Linked DNA regions of Homo sapiens: all the other regions are linked to region 2. Evidence: promoter capture Hi-C in 16 types of primary human blood cells and fetal thymus (Javierre and others, 2016). All regions are on one chromosome and are shown on one strand. The core of a region is centred on a gene start or on the middle of the fragment in contact, and the rest is flanking DNA. Distances in the headings are between cores, read along the strand shown. Region 1 overlaps NARS2 (asparaginyl-tRNA synthetase 2, mitochondrial). Region 2 holds the start of ALG8 (ALG8 alpha-1,3-glucosyltransferase). Region 3 has its middle 2.1 kb from the start of LINC02728. Region 4 overlaps GAB2 (GRB2 associated binding protein 2).

Evidence for each region. Contacts are between HindIII fragments. The CHiCAGO score rates a contact against its expected background, and 5 or more counts as called.
Region 1: a contact is called between a fragment that was not itself captured here and the fragment with the promoter of ALG8 in region 2, in 1 of 17 cell types (naive CD4 T cells). The highest score is 5.6, in naive CD4 T cells.
Region 3: a contact is called between a fragment that was not itself captured here and the fragment with the promoter of ALG8 in region 2, in 6 of 17 cell types (activated CD4 T cells, megakaryocytes, fetal thymus and 3 more). The highest score is 8.7, in activated CD4 T cells.
Region 4: a fragment that was not itself captured here is called in contact with the fragment with the promoter of ALG8 in region 2 in 5 of 17 cell types (non-activated CD4 T cells, activated CD4 T cells, fetal thymus and 2 more); the score reaches 10.6 in non-activated CD4 T cells.

The regions. Positions count from the first base shown.
Region 1 is chr11:78,449,162-78,452,138 of GRCh38, reverse strand. The region is part of intron 11 of NARS2 (asparaginyl-tRNA synthetase 2, mitochondrial); the gene reads left to right. Among named protein-coding and RNA genes, the nearest start is that of LINC02728, 21 kb to the right of the region's middle. The HindIII fragment of the contact is 2,362 bases long and covers 137-2,498 here.
Region 2 is chr11:78,137,741-78,140,940 of GRCh38, reverse strand. ALG8 (ALG8 alpha-1,3-glucosyltransferase) reads left to right here and starts at 1,315. Exons shown (of 13, transcript NM_024079.5): 1 at 1,315-1,447. The coding sequence starts at 1,353. It overlaps KCTD21-AS1 (KCTD21 antisense RNA 1), which reads right to left and starts at 1,148. Exons shown (of 3, transcript NR_102281.1): 1 at 869-1,148. RefSeq lists enhancers at 1-582, 743-852, 1,463-1,542, 1,623-1,732. The HindIII fragment of the contact is 5,506 bases long and covers 1-1,584 here.
Region 3 is chr11:78,430,316-78,433,518 of GRCh38, reverse strand. No RefSeq gene overlaps it. Among named protein-coding and RNA genes, the nearest start is that of LINC02728, 2.1 kb to the right of the region's middle. The HindIII fragment of the contact is 4,611 bases long and covers 1-3,203 here.
Region 4 is chr11:78,409,067-78,412,064 of GRCh38, reverse strand. The region is part of intron 1 of GAB2 (GRB2 associated binding protein 2); the gene reads left to right. Among named protein-coding and RNA genes, the nearest start is that of GAB2, 7.3 kb to the left of the region's middle. The HindIII fragment of the contact is 9,698 bases long and covers 1-2,998 here.

The sequences.
Region 1 (2,977 bases), core at 68-2,567, 310 kb before region 2:
GACTCCATCTCAAAAAAATTTAAAAAAAAAATTGAAAAATTTAAAAAAAGAATCATAGTTGAAACTCATAAATAAGTATGTGTTTGGTCATCTAACTAAAAGATATGGATACTTCGTAACAGGAAGTTCAAAAGCTTGCAGCTCATTTCCCAGGGCAAAGGTGATGTGCTCCAGCTTGCTTAAGATGTGCTCTAGAGTCCGGCTATTTGGAGAGCCTGGCATGCAACAGCCAAATGGGCAGAAAATGGGTATTGACGGTTGCTCAATTTCAGAGTCACCTTTGCAGTACTCTAAAAGCACACTGGAATTGGCTGGAAGAGCCATTAGTAGACAATCAATATCTGAGCTTTTGATAGTGACCATGGTCTATATGATTATTTGTGGTACTTTATCTGTATTTTTCTTGTAGCACCTAATGCTTTATGGTTAGCTATGATAAAATCTAATCTCTGCTGTAGCACTTTTTATTTATTCATGAACCTTCCCCACTTTCCCTAATCAAAGTTAATTCCTCCTGTCTTTATTGTCCTTGGCTCTATAAGCCAGTCTCAGCCTCCCATAAACCACAGACCTGCCTGCCCATAAAGGCAAGTTGTCATCACCCGCAAATGCCAACTTTCTTGTTTCCAACCTGCCTGCACTCTTAACCGGCTCCCAATAACTTGTGAAACACACAATCAAGTTTTTGTCATTACTTCTCCAAGAAATTTGTGTAATTGCCTGTGTGTTTGTATTATATCTTTATGTACCTTTTATCTCTAGGAGAACCCAGGAGAAAGAGGTAGTTTTTCTAGTAACTAGCCCAGTTGTTATCAGGGGGAGATACAAGGTAGAAGAATTCTACCTGGAATTTCAATCCTAACTAAAGAGTGTGAAAATTTGAGGGAATTGTTCTAGTGATCTTTAGAGAATGCAGTATTTTTGATATACCAGAAGAAAGTACACTCTGTGTATTCAAAATGTGTCTTTATTTGTAATTGAAGAATACTCTGCTGTATTATAACTTCTCAGAGAGTGTGCAGAATCTTTAGCTAGGTAGGAGGATATAGTTATAAAAGAAAAACAGGAAGTATTAGAATCTGATACGGTGGAAGGGAACCTAAACCTGAAGTAAAAGAGAAAAGAAGAATGTTACATGGAGGAAGAAAAGACAACAAGGGCTGGGCACAGTGGCTCACGCCTGTAATCCCAGCACTTTGGAGGCCCAGGTGGGCAGATCACTTGAGGTCAGGAGTTAGAGGCCTGCCTGCCCAACATGGTGAAACCCCATCTCTACTACAAAAATTAGGTATAAAAATTAGCCAGGCGTGGTGGCATGCATCTGTAATACCAGCTACTCGGGAGGCTGAGGCAGGAGAATCACTTGAACCTGAGAAGCGGAGGTTGCAGTGAGCTGAGATCACACCACTGCATTCCAGCCTGGGCGACACAGTGAGACTCAGTCTCAGGAAAAAAAAAAAAAAAAAAAAAAAGACAAGGCTTTTGTGGGCTTTTCTTCAGAGGTTCACCTGACCTTGTTGAAAAAGAAATAGTACCATTTGGTCCTGAAATAATTATGAGACATTGTAAAGGAATGCTTTGCTCAAAAGATACAGGTATCTTAAGAGGGGAAGCAACTTTGCACTCTTGTCAAGGAAACATGTAGGAGACTGACCACTGGAGAGAATGTGAATTTTCAGACCATGTAGGCAAAGAAAGAACAAAGATGATATGTGTTCCTCCTGCATACCATTAAATTAGTACCAAGTAAAGATATAGTAGTGGTGTGGGACTGTATCCAGATGTCTTCTAAAATTTTTATCCCGTGAAAATAGCCTATTTTGGTAAGTTCTTCCATACTGATTCGTTTATCTCCCAGAGTACAGAGGAAGAAAATAGGAGAACTACTGTTCTTCCTTTAATTCTAATTAACATTGAAGGATTGTTTGGGAGGGTGGAAGTTTAAGAGTCCACGTAGATGAGGAAAAAGCAACATGGAAAACTGTTTTATGTGCACATATAGTTTGTGCTTCTCCCTCAGTGGGAATTATGCTTCCCCGTCCCATTAATGTGACCTGAGTCATATGACTTGCATTGGTCGAGGAATGTGAGAAGTGACATACATACGTTGCTTCTGTACAAATGCTTTTAGTACATAGTCATACATGATCTTTTTCCCATCTGCCCCAAGACCAACAGTACCCTAGAAAGAGATTATTCTATCAGTTTTAGACCAGGGTGGACATGTGGCCTGTGTTTTTAAAAGGCCTTTCATTGTTTTAAACTAGTGGTTCTCAACCAGGGATTATTATGTTCCCCTCTTTCTTCACCAAGGAACATTTGTAATGTCTGGAAATGTTTTTGGTTGTTACAACAAGGGGAGTATAACTGGCCTATAGTGGGTAGAGGCTAGTTATGCTTCTCAATATCCCACAGTGCACAGTTGAGGCCTCCACAACAAAGAAGTATCTAGTTAAAAATGTTATTAATGTTGAGATTGAGAAACCTGGTTGTAAGCTTCTGGGGTTGTTTGTGACTATAGCTTAGCCTAGCCTATCCTGACTAATACAACAACTTTCACCTTAATTTTATACTAAGTGCAGCAATAGTTGTGTATAACCAGTTAGGTACACTGGAAATTAGGAAGGCAAGTTTGGGAGAAAAAAAAATTTTTTTTTTTAACGTAGCTATCCTACCATGGTATAAGGTTTTTAAGGTGACTTGGCCAGGCGCGGTGGCTCACGCCTGTAATCCCAGCACTTTGGGAGGCTGAGGCAGGCGGATCACGAGGTCAGGAGATCCGAGACCATCCTGGCTAACGTGGTGAAACCCTGTCTCTACTAAAAATACAAAAAAATTAGCCGGGCATGGTGGCAGGTGCCTGTAGTCCCAGCTACTCGGGAGGCTGAGGCAGGAGAATAGCATGAACCGGGGAGGTGGAGTTTGCAGTGAGCCGAGATCGCACCACTGCACTCCAGCCTGGGTGACAGAGCAAGAC
Region 2 (3,200 bases), core at 66-2,565:
GAGCTAGAAATCTGTGAATCATATTCACATGGGTGGCAGCTGAAGCTGTGGGAGGGCATAAACTCATATTAGGGAGGTGACACTGTCACCTACTTGCTGTGCATCTTTCAGCAAGATAATTAACTGATCTGACACATTATTGAGCATTTATTCTGTCCTGGAATCATATCAAGCAATTTACATGCATTCTCATTTAATCCTCACAACCAGTTTATGAGGCTGAAACTTTTTTTTTTTTAGACCAAAAGCATCTTGGATAAACAGGCCTGAGGCTTGCCCAGGCTGAAGTGCAATGGCGCGATCTCAGCTCACTGCAACCTCCGCCTCCCACGTTCACGCGATTCTCTAGCTTCAGCCTCCCGAGTAGGTGGAATTACAAGCGCCCGCCACCATGCACGGCTAATTTTTTTTTAATTTTTAGTAGAGACAGGGTTTCACCATATTGGCCAGGCTGATCTCAAACTCCTGAACTCAGGTGATTCGCCCACCTCGGCCTCCCAGTGTTGGGATTACAGGCGTGAGCCACCGCGTCCGGCCAGAAACCATTTTTATCTCCTATTTTCAAAAATAAATAAATAAATAAAAATTTTAAAAAAAGAAACTGAGGTTTAGAGTTTAGTTTGTCCAAGATCATACAGTAAAATAATGAGACAAGCCTAATTAAATTGCATGTGCCTCAGTCATTACGCAATCTGCGAGTTTGTTGGGCCTACTGAATCAGAATCCGAATTATTTTAACATGAACCGTAGGCTATTTGTACACTAAGCGTTAGGACTAGCCTCTACCCTGCTTCCAGAATGGGTTCCGCTCAAGCAGGAGGTGAGCCAAGAGCCTCGCTCAGAGTTCTAAAAACACAATGTTTCTCACCTCTGTATCTTTGCACATGCCATTCTCTAGCTGGATTTAATACTCCGGTGCAAGCGTCCAGGTTGGGAGCCCCCGCAGTTCTCTGAGGTACTTTTATCTACTGTAACTCTAGGGCAACAATCCTGGCTTCTCCACTAGTGCGTGAACGTCTCTAGCGTTAAGTTTTTTTCTCACCTAAGTATCCCCAATACTACACAGTGATGACCCAGCGCAAACGACCACTCTTTCAACGCAAGCATGAACTAGCTGATAAAACTTAAAAGTGGCTACAAACGCCTGCGCAGGAGCCCTTCCGGCCCGGGGTGAGACGCGGGTCTAAAGAAAAGGTGGGCGGGAGGTTTAAATAGCTGACTGCAGTCCCCGGACTGGCTGCGCCGCTCGCCGCATGCGCGCAGCTAGCGGGCACGGCTTCAGAGGGCTTTCTCCGCATGCGCGGGATCCCGGATGTGGATCAAGTTGGTGGGAAGCGTGCGGTGCCGCAGCAATGGCGGCGCTCACAATTGCCACGGGTACTGGCAATTGGTTTTCGGCTTTGGCGCTCGGGGTGACTCTTCTCAAATGCCTTCTCATCCCCACATAGTAAGGGACTCGCACGGCCAGGGGCTGGGCGGGGAGGCCCCGCGGTCGGTCAGGGCGGGAGAGAAAGGTGTGGATATCCCTGGGTATGAAGAGAAAACTTTAGGTCGTGTTTGTCGCTATCCTGCCTTTGCTAAGCTTTCTGTTTCGCCAGTTGTTACTTGACTTAGCCCCAGCTGGCTAGGTTCAGACCTGGCGCTGTCTGATTTGGAACAAATCACTTTAACGTTTCTGAACCTCAGGGTCCTCATCCTTAATAGGCAGTTAAGAACCTCTGCCTCCAACAGCCATTCAGCCAGTATTATCAGATGCCTGAGGTGCCAGGTACCGTTCTAACTCCCGGGAGATGCGGTGGTGAGCAAGACATTGCTGGTCCTTGCCCTCGAAGTTGGTGGGTGGAGCTAGACAAACAGGAACTTTTCAGATTGTGATAAAGGAAATAGAGGGTTACTAAGTGGCTGTGCGCTATTCCTTTAGAAGGTGATGTTTGAGTTGAAATTCAAAAAATGAAAAAGAATAAGTGATGTGGAAAGCAGTTCAGGCATAGGAAAGAGTAAGTTCAAAGGCCCTGTGGCAGGAAAGAAGTCAGAGCATTCTAGGAACAGAAAGTGCCCCTTGTGGCTGCAGAGCATTGAGGGAGAGGAGTGGCACAGCATGGGGTGCACTGGGGACAGATAACACAGGGTTTCGAAGACCACAGTTAGACTGCTGTGTAAAAAATGGATGTAGGGCCAAGACTGAAAGCGTGGAAACCAAGAAGCAACCATGAAATGGTGGTGTGTATACAGTAGGTACTCAGTATTTATTAATATTGGCTTCCGCCTTCCCTTCATCCTTCCTCTTTTTTCTTTTTCTCCCTCATCCCTTTTCTCCTTTCCCTCCCACTTCCTAGTTTAGGGTTTGTTTTATTGGTATCCTTTGATTCAGGCTCTTGGTGATCTCTTGTTGAATATGGGAGAGTCATATGTATAGAATGTAAGTCCATACTGATGCGTATATGTAATCATGTAAGTGGAATGTATATGTAGATTCAGTAAAATGATTAACTGTAGGTCTGTGCATAAGATTATTTCTTGCTTTAGTTGCCTCAGGCTAGAAATGTATCCTCAGAGTTGTTTTTTTTGTTTGTTATTTTTTTTTTTTTTGAGACAGTCTCGTCCCACTCTGTCACCCAGGCTGGAGTACAGTGGCACGATCTCAGCTTACTGCAACCTCTGCCTCCCGGGTTCAAACGATTCTCCTGCCTCAGCCTCCGGAGTAGCTGGGATTACAGGCTTGCACCACCGCGCCAGGCTAATTTTTGTATTTTTAGTAGAGATGGGGTTTCACCATGATGGCGGAGGGCTGATCTCAAATCTCCTGACCTCAAGTGATCCACCTGCCTCGGCCTCCCATAATGTTGGGATTACAGGCATGAGCCACCGTGCCTGGCCAGAGTTGTTATTTTGAATACTGCTCTTGGTCCAGGTTAAGAATGTATATAGCGCTCACTTTGGCAGCACATGTACAGGAATACCTCATTTTTTGTACTTTGCTTTATTGCACTTCACAGATACTGCATTTTCATTTTTTTTACAAATTGAAGGCTGCGGTAACTCTCCATTGAGCAACTCTATCAATGCCATTTTTCTAACATCATGTGCTCATTTTGTGTCTGTGTTACATTTTGGTAAATCTTGAAATATTTCACACTTTTTCATTGCTATTATATTTGTTATGATCTGTAATCAGTGATCTTTGATACTACTATTCTGAT
Region 3 (3,203 bases), core at 31-2,530, 290 kb before region 2:
CATAATAGCTTTTAGTGCTCAGTTTCTGAGTTAAAAGGTGATAAGAGGGTTAGTTTTTCACTTGAGCAACCCATTTCCAATGAGGAAAGAAATCAGATTATGTTTTCCTAAGATTTCCAAATGCCACCTGAAAATAAGAACCCCAGCAACCAAAGTAGAAGTATATTCTAAAACTTAGAAAGGTTTTTTCCATTATTCTCATTCTTATTTCAAATTTTGAGATAGGTTGAGAAAAATAGTTGCTTTCCATCTGGCTGTCCTTTTGCCTGGGGAAAGTTGTGCTGTCATGTTTTTAGGTCTGACAAGAACTTAATTGTGTGAGTGATCCATTCCAGATCTAGACATAACTCTCCAACCCAGAGACTCTTCAACTGTCACAGAATAGCAAAAGAACTATTTGACCTTTTGTTCTTGTCAGACTGGATCTGCCAGAAGCCTCCCTCTACAATGTTATATATTCATATTCTCTATAAATTGAATGTAGACATTGAAGCATGACTGAACAGGCATTGAAGATGTACTTGGTGAGGTGGATTAACTCTACCCATCTTTAAATCCGTTGCTTCAGATAATTATAGATGAGAGATGCTTATTTGGATTGGATTGCTATTTATTCTTATGTTTATTTTACTAAGTGGTGAGGCAAGAACACAAAAATGTACAGTTGAAAGACAGATTGGCCTGGGTTGATTGATAAGTAATGTGTGGGGTGTTTTGGCTTCTGATCAATATTTGTATTCAGTCTGCAATCTATGTATAATTAAAAAAACAGGTGAGAGTAACATCTGATTATAATTTCTCCCCAGTTAATCTTCAGAATTAAAAGATAGTAAAAGCGTTAAGAAAAGGGCAGAAAGCGGGCCGGGCACGGTGGCTCATACCTGTAACCCCAGCACTTTGGGAGGCCAAGACAGGCGGATCACCTGAGGTCAGGAGTTCGAGACCAGCCTGACTAACATGATGAAACCCATCTCTACTAAAAATACAAAAATTAGCTAGCTGTGGTGGTAGGCTCCTGTAATCCCAGCTCCTTGGGAGGCTGAGGCAGGAGAATTGCTGGAACTTGGGAGGCGGAGGTTTCAGTGAGCCGAGATGGTGCCATTGCACTCCAGCGGGGGGCAGCAGAGCAAGACTCCATCTCAAAAAAAAAAAAAAAGAAAAAGAAAAGGGCCCAAAGCAACCTTAATCACTGTATTGAAATGATTTAGTATGGCTTTTGTAAGAAAGTATTTTAAGTCATGGTCAGCATCCCTCCCTGAACTTGGACATTCTACTGTTGCCAGGAGCCCTAGATTGGCCTGTGATCAACTAAGGCTCCAGTTAGCTGTTGTGCAGTTTGGACCCAGCATTACCATAAATGGAGTCCAGCGAATTTCTAGCCATTATCAGCACACTGGATAGTTTCTGGGGGACCTTTATAAAGAAGACACCAGGAGTTTAGGTGGTTTTTAAACTGTCATTCAGGCAGCTGGTCATTGAATTAACATAGCTCATGACTTTTCAAAAATTTTCTGCTATACCTTTACTGTTCATAATTGTTACTAATAACATGACTATTATTTAGGCATTGCTTTACAGTTCACAAACATGTTTCATGTATCTTATTTTCTTAGTTATCAAGACAATACATTGTGGACTTTGTTCCTTTGTATCTTACTGGTCATGAAATTTATTTGGTTTATTTGTTATAAAAATTCAAAGTTCCTTTTGGGAGGCCAAGGCCGGCAGATCACAAGGTCAGGAGATTGAGACCATCCTGGCTAACACGGTGAAACCCTGTCTCTACAAAAAAAAAAAAAAAAAAAAAAAAAAAAAAATTAGCCGGGTGTGGTGGCAGGCGCCTGTAGTCCCAGCTTACTCAGGAGGCTGAGGCAGGAGAATGGCATGAACCCGGGAGGCGGAACTTGCAGTCAGCCGAGATCACACCACTGCACTCCAGCCTAGGCAAAAGAGCGAGACTCTGTCTCAAAAAAAAAAAAAAAAAAAATCGAAAGTTCCTAATACTGAGAGAAAGACTGCAAATAAAATTCACTGCCCTCAGCTTCCAGAGAAACCAAAAAACATAAAACCTAATAACCAAAGAATCTTGCATCTTAAGCCCCAGAGTTTACTGAATGTGTCGCAAAATACTCACCTTGACCTTGTTCTACCCAGGGTGAAGGGACAGGAGAATGTGAAGGAAGATGATGTTTGATCTCAAATACATTGGAGTAAAGAGAAACACTAAAAATGGGGTAAAGGATCCTAGACCCAGCAATGTACTTAAGCTCATTGTGCCTCAATTTGTTATCAGTTTATACTCACATTTGCCACCTTCCTTTTAGGATCATCTTTGAATTGTGGATAGAAAGATACATGAAAGAAACTTTGATAGGAATTATTAATATCTTCCTCGAAGTCACAGACCTTTGATTTTTCAAGGTAATAATCTGAAAATAGATACATGGTGAGCCTGTGTAACAAAGGTTTTTTTTCTGCAACAGGTGCCCATGTACACAGCTGGAACTGTATTTTGCCGAACCTGAGCCATCTACAACTGTGATTCTTTGATTCATAACTTTCTCTACACACTAGCTCAATAAGAATTGCTGGTTTGCCATTTTCCTAGGAACCTAGTTTTGAAAAATCTTGGAAAGAAGATAATTCTTCCCGTTTATGATATATGAACTACTCCCCTCTGTATTTCTCCTGATTCCTAGTAATTTACCTATTGTAGCTTCACTGAATAGGAACTCACTATCTTAATAGAGATCTTTTATTTATTTATTTATTTATTTATTTATTTAGAGACAGGGTCTTACTCTCTCACTCAGGCTAGAGTGCAGTGACGTGATCACAGCTCACTGCAGCCTCAGCCTCCCAGGCTCAAGTGATCCTTCTGCCTCAGCCTCCCACGTAGCTGGGACCACAGGCACAAGCCACCACACCCAGCTAATTTTTGTATTTTTTGTAGAGACAGGGTTTTGCCATGTTGCCCAGGCTGGTCTTGAACTCCTGGGCTCAAGCAGTCCTCCCACTTTGGCCTCTGAAAGGGCAGGGATTACAGGCATGAGCCACTGTGCCTAGCCTTATTTTTTGGAAACGGTCTTGCTTTGTCGCTCAGGCTTAAGTGCAGTGATGTGTACATGGCTCAATGCAGCCTCGACCTCCTGGGCCCAAGCAATCCTCAGCCTCCCATGTAGCTGGGATCACAGGTATGTGCC
Region 4 (2,998 bases), core at 291-2,790, 270 kb before region 2:
CTCTTTGTTGTTGTTGTTGTTGTTGTTGTTGTTTTTAGACAGATTCTCACTCTGTCACCCAGGCTGGAGTGCGGTGGCACAGTCTTGGCTCACTGCAACCTCTGCCTCCCAGGTTCAAGCGATTCTCCTGCCTCAGCCTCCTGAGTAGCTGGGACTACAGGTGTGCGCCACCATGCCCAGCTCATTTTTGTATTTTTAGTAGAGACAGGGTTTCACCATGTTGGCCAGGATGGTCTCAATCTCTTGACCTCGTGATCCGCCCACCTTGGCCTCCCAAAGTGCTGGGATTACAGGCGTGAGCCACTGCGCCGGCTTTCCTGGTTTTTTTTTTTCTACACATTTTACAGGTTTATGTTTTTCCTTTAAGTCCGTGATCCACTGTGAGTTAATTTTCATGTAAGATGTGAGACTTAGATTGAGGTTCTTTTGTTGTTGTCATTGTTGTTGACAAAGCCATCCTACTTCCATTGAATTGCTTTTCCGTCTTTGTCAAAAATCAGTTGGACGTATTTGTGTGGGTCTGTTTCTGTTGTCTCTGTTTTGGTCCATTTTTCCATGTGTCTGTCCCTCTGCAAATACCATAGAATCTTGCCAACTCTAGCTATATTGTAAGTCTTGAAATCTGGTAGCCTGATTCCTCTACTTTATTCTTATTTTTCAAAGTGTTTTAGCTATTCTATTATCTTTACCTTTCAATACAAATTTTAGAATAATCTTGTTTATGCAAAAAAAAGAAAGTCTTGCTGAGATTTTAATAGGAAGTGCATTAATCCTGTGTACCAATTTGGGAAGAAATTACAGCTTTACTATATTAAATCTTCCAGTCCATGAATTTATTTTACATTTATTTATATATGTCTTTCTTCCTTCGTTTATTTTCTTCTCCTTCCACCATCCCCCCCCCCAACCACCCCCACCAGAATCTTGCTGTGTCACACAGGCTGGCGACAGTGGCACAATCATGGCTCACTGCAGCCTCAAATTCCTGGGCTCAGGTGATCCTACTGTCTCAGCCTCCCAAGTAATTGGGACGACAGCTGCGTACTGCTGTGCCTGGCTAATTTTTTTTTTTATTATTTGTAGAGACAGGGTCTCCCTGCGTTGCCCAGGCTGGTCTCACACTCCGGAGCTTAAGCAGTCCTCCCACCTTGGCTTCCCAGAGTGCTGCGATTATAGGTGTGAACCACCATGTCTAGCCTTCTGGAAGAGATGGTGTAGAACTGGTATAATTCTTTAAACCTTTGGTAGAATTCTCCAGATTAAACCATCTGGATCTGGAAATGTCTTTGTTAGGAATTTTTTACATTTTTAATCCAATTTCTTTAATAGATACGGGGTTCTTCAAATTATCTACTTCATATTGGCTGAATTATAGAAGTTTACATTTTTCAACAAATTGGTCCATTTTGTCTAAGTTGTTACATACATGTGAGTGGAGTTACAGTATCCTGTATTATGCTTTCAGTGTCTGCAGGGTCTGTAGTGGGTCCACTGCTTTATTTTTTTAACCCTTATTCTTGCATACTGACATTGCTTCATTATTATTTTTTGTTTGTTTTTTGAGACAGCATGTCACTCTGTCACCTGGGGTGGAGTGCAATGGCACGATCTCAGCTCACTACAACCTCCACCTCCCAGGTTCCAGCAGTTCTCCTGCCTCAGCCTCCCGAGCAGCTGGGATTGCAGGCATGTGCCACAATGCCCAGCTGATTTTTGTATTTTTAGTAGAGACAGGGTTTCACCATATTGGCCAGGCTGGTCTCAAACTCCTGACCTTAAGTGATCTGCCTGCTTTGGCCTCCCAAAGTGCTGCAATTACAGGCATGAGCCGCTGCACCTGGCCTCTGATTTTTTTATATAGTAGTTTATTCATTTGAGACTTTTCCTCTTATTTAATGTATTCATTTACTGCTATGAATTTCCCTCTCAGCACTGCTTTAGCTGTGTCCCACTAATTTTGATAAATTGCATTTTCAATTTTTATTTGCTCAGTATATATATATTTTTTTTACTTTCCTTGAGACTTTCCTCTTTGACCATGGATTATTTACAAGTACATTGTTTAGTTTCCAAATGTTTGGAGATTTTCCCATTATTTTTCTGTTTCTGTCTTTTAGTTGGAATTCATTGTGGGAGTAGAGTAAGTTCTATTTGATTTCAATTATTTTTAACTTGTCAAGGTTTATTTTATTGCTGAAAATGTGGTCTATCTTGCTTTAGGTTCCATGGGTACTTTGAAAAGAATGTTTATTCTGCTATTATTGGGTAAAGTATTCCATAAATGTCAATTATATCTTTTTGATTGATAGTGATATATATAATTCTTTTATATCCTTGCTGATTTTTCTATCTAGTTCTTCTGTCGATTGTTGAGAGACAGGGGTTGAAGTTTCCAACTATAATTGTGAATATTTCTGTTTCTCATTTCACTTATATCTGTTTTTGTTTCACATATTTTATTTTTTTTATTATTTTTTTGGAGATGGAGTTCCGCTGTTGTTGCCCAGGCTGGAGGTGCAATAGCATGATCTCAGCTCTCCGCAACCTCCACCTCCTGGGTGCAAGCAATTCTCCTGCCTCAGCCTCCCAAGTAGTTGGGATTACAGGCATGCGCCACCACACCCGGCTAATTTTGTATTTTTAATAGAGACAGGGTTTCTCCATGTTGGCCAGACTGGTCTCGAACTCCTGACCTCAGGTCATCCGCCTGCCTCGGCCTCCCAAAGTGCTGGGATTACAGACATGAGCCACCGCACCCAGCCCTGTTGTTCAATATATACACATTTAGAATTGCAACATCTTCTTGGTGGCATGACCCTTTTATCTTTATATAATACCTGCTGAGTCTCTGGTAATTTCTTTTGCTCTGAGGTCTACTTGTTATCTGATATATTATACAAGTATCTGAGGGCTACTTGATATATTATAGCCTATATCTGATGATATAGTTATTCTTGCTTTCCTTTTATTGATATTCACATGATACATCTTTTCCATC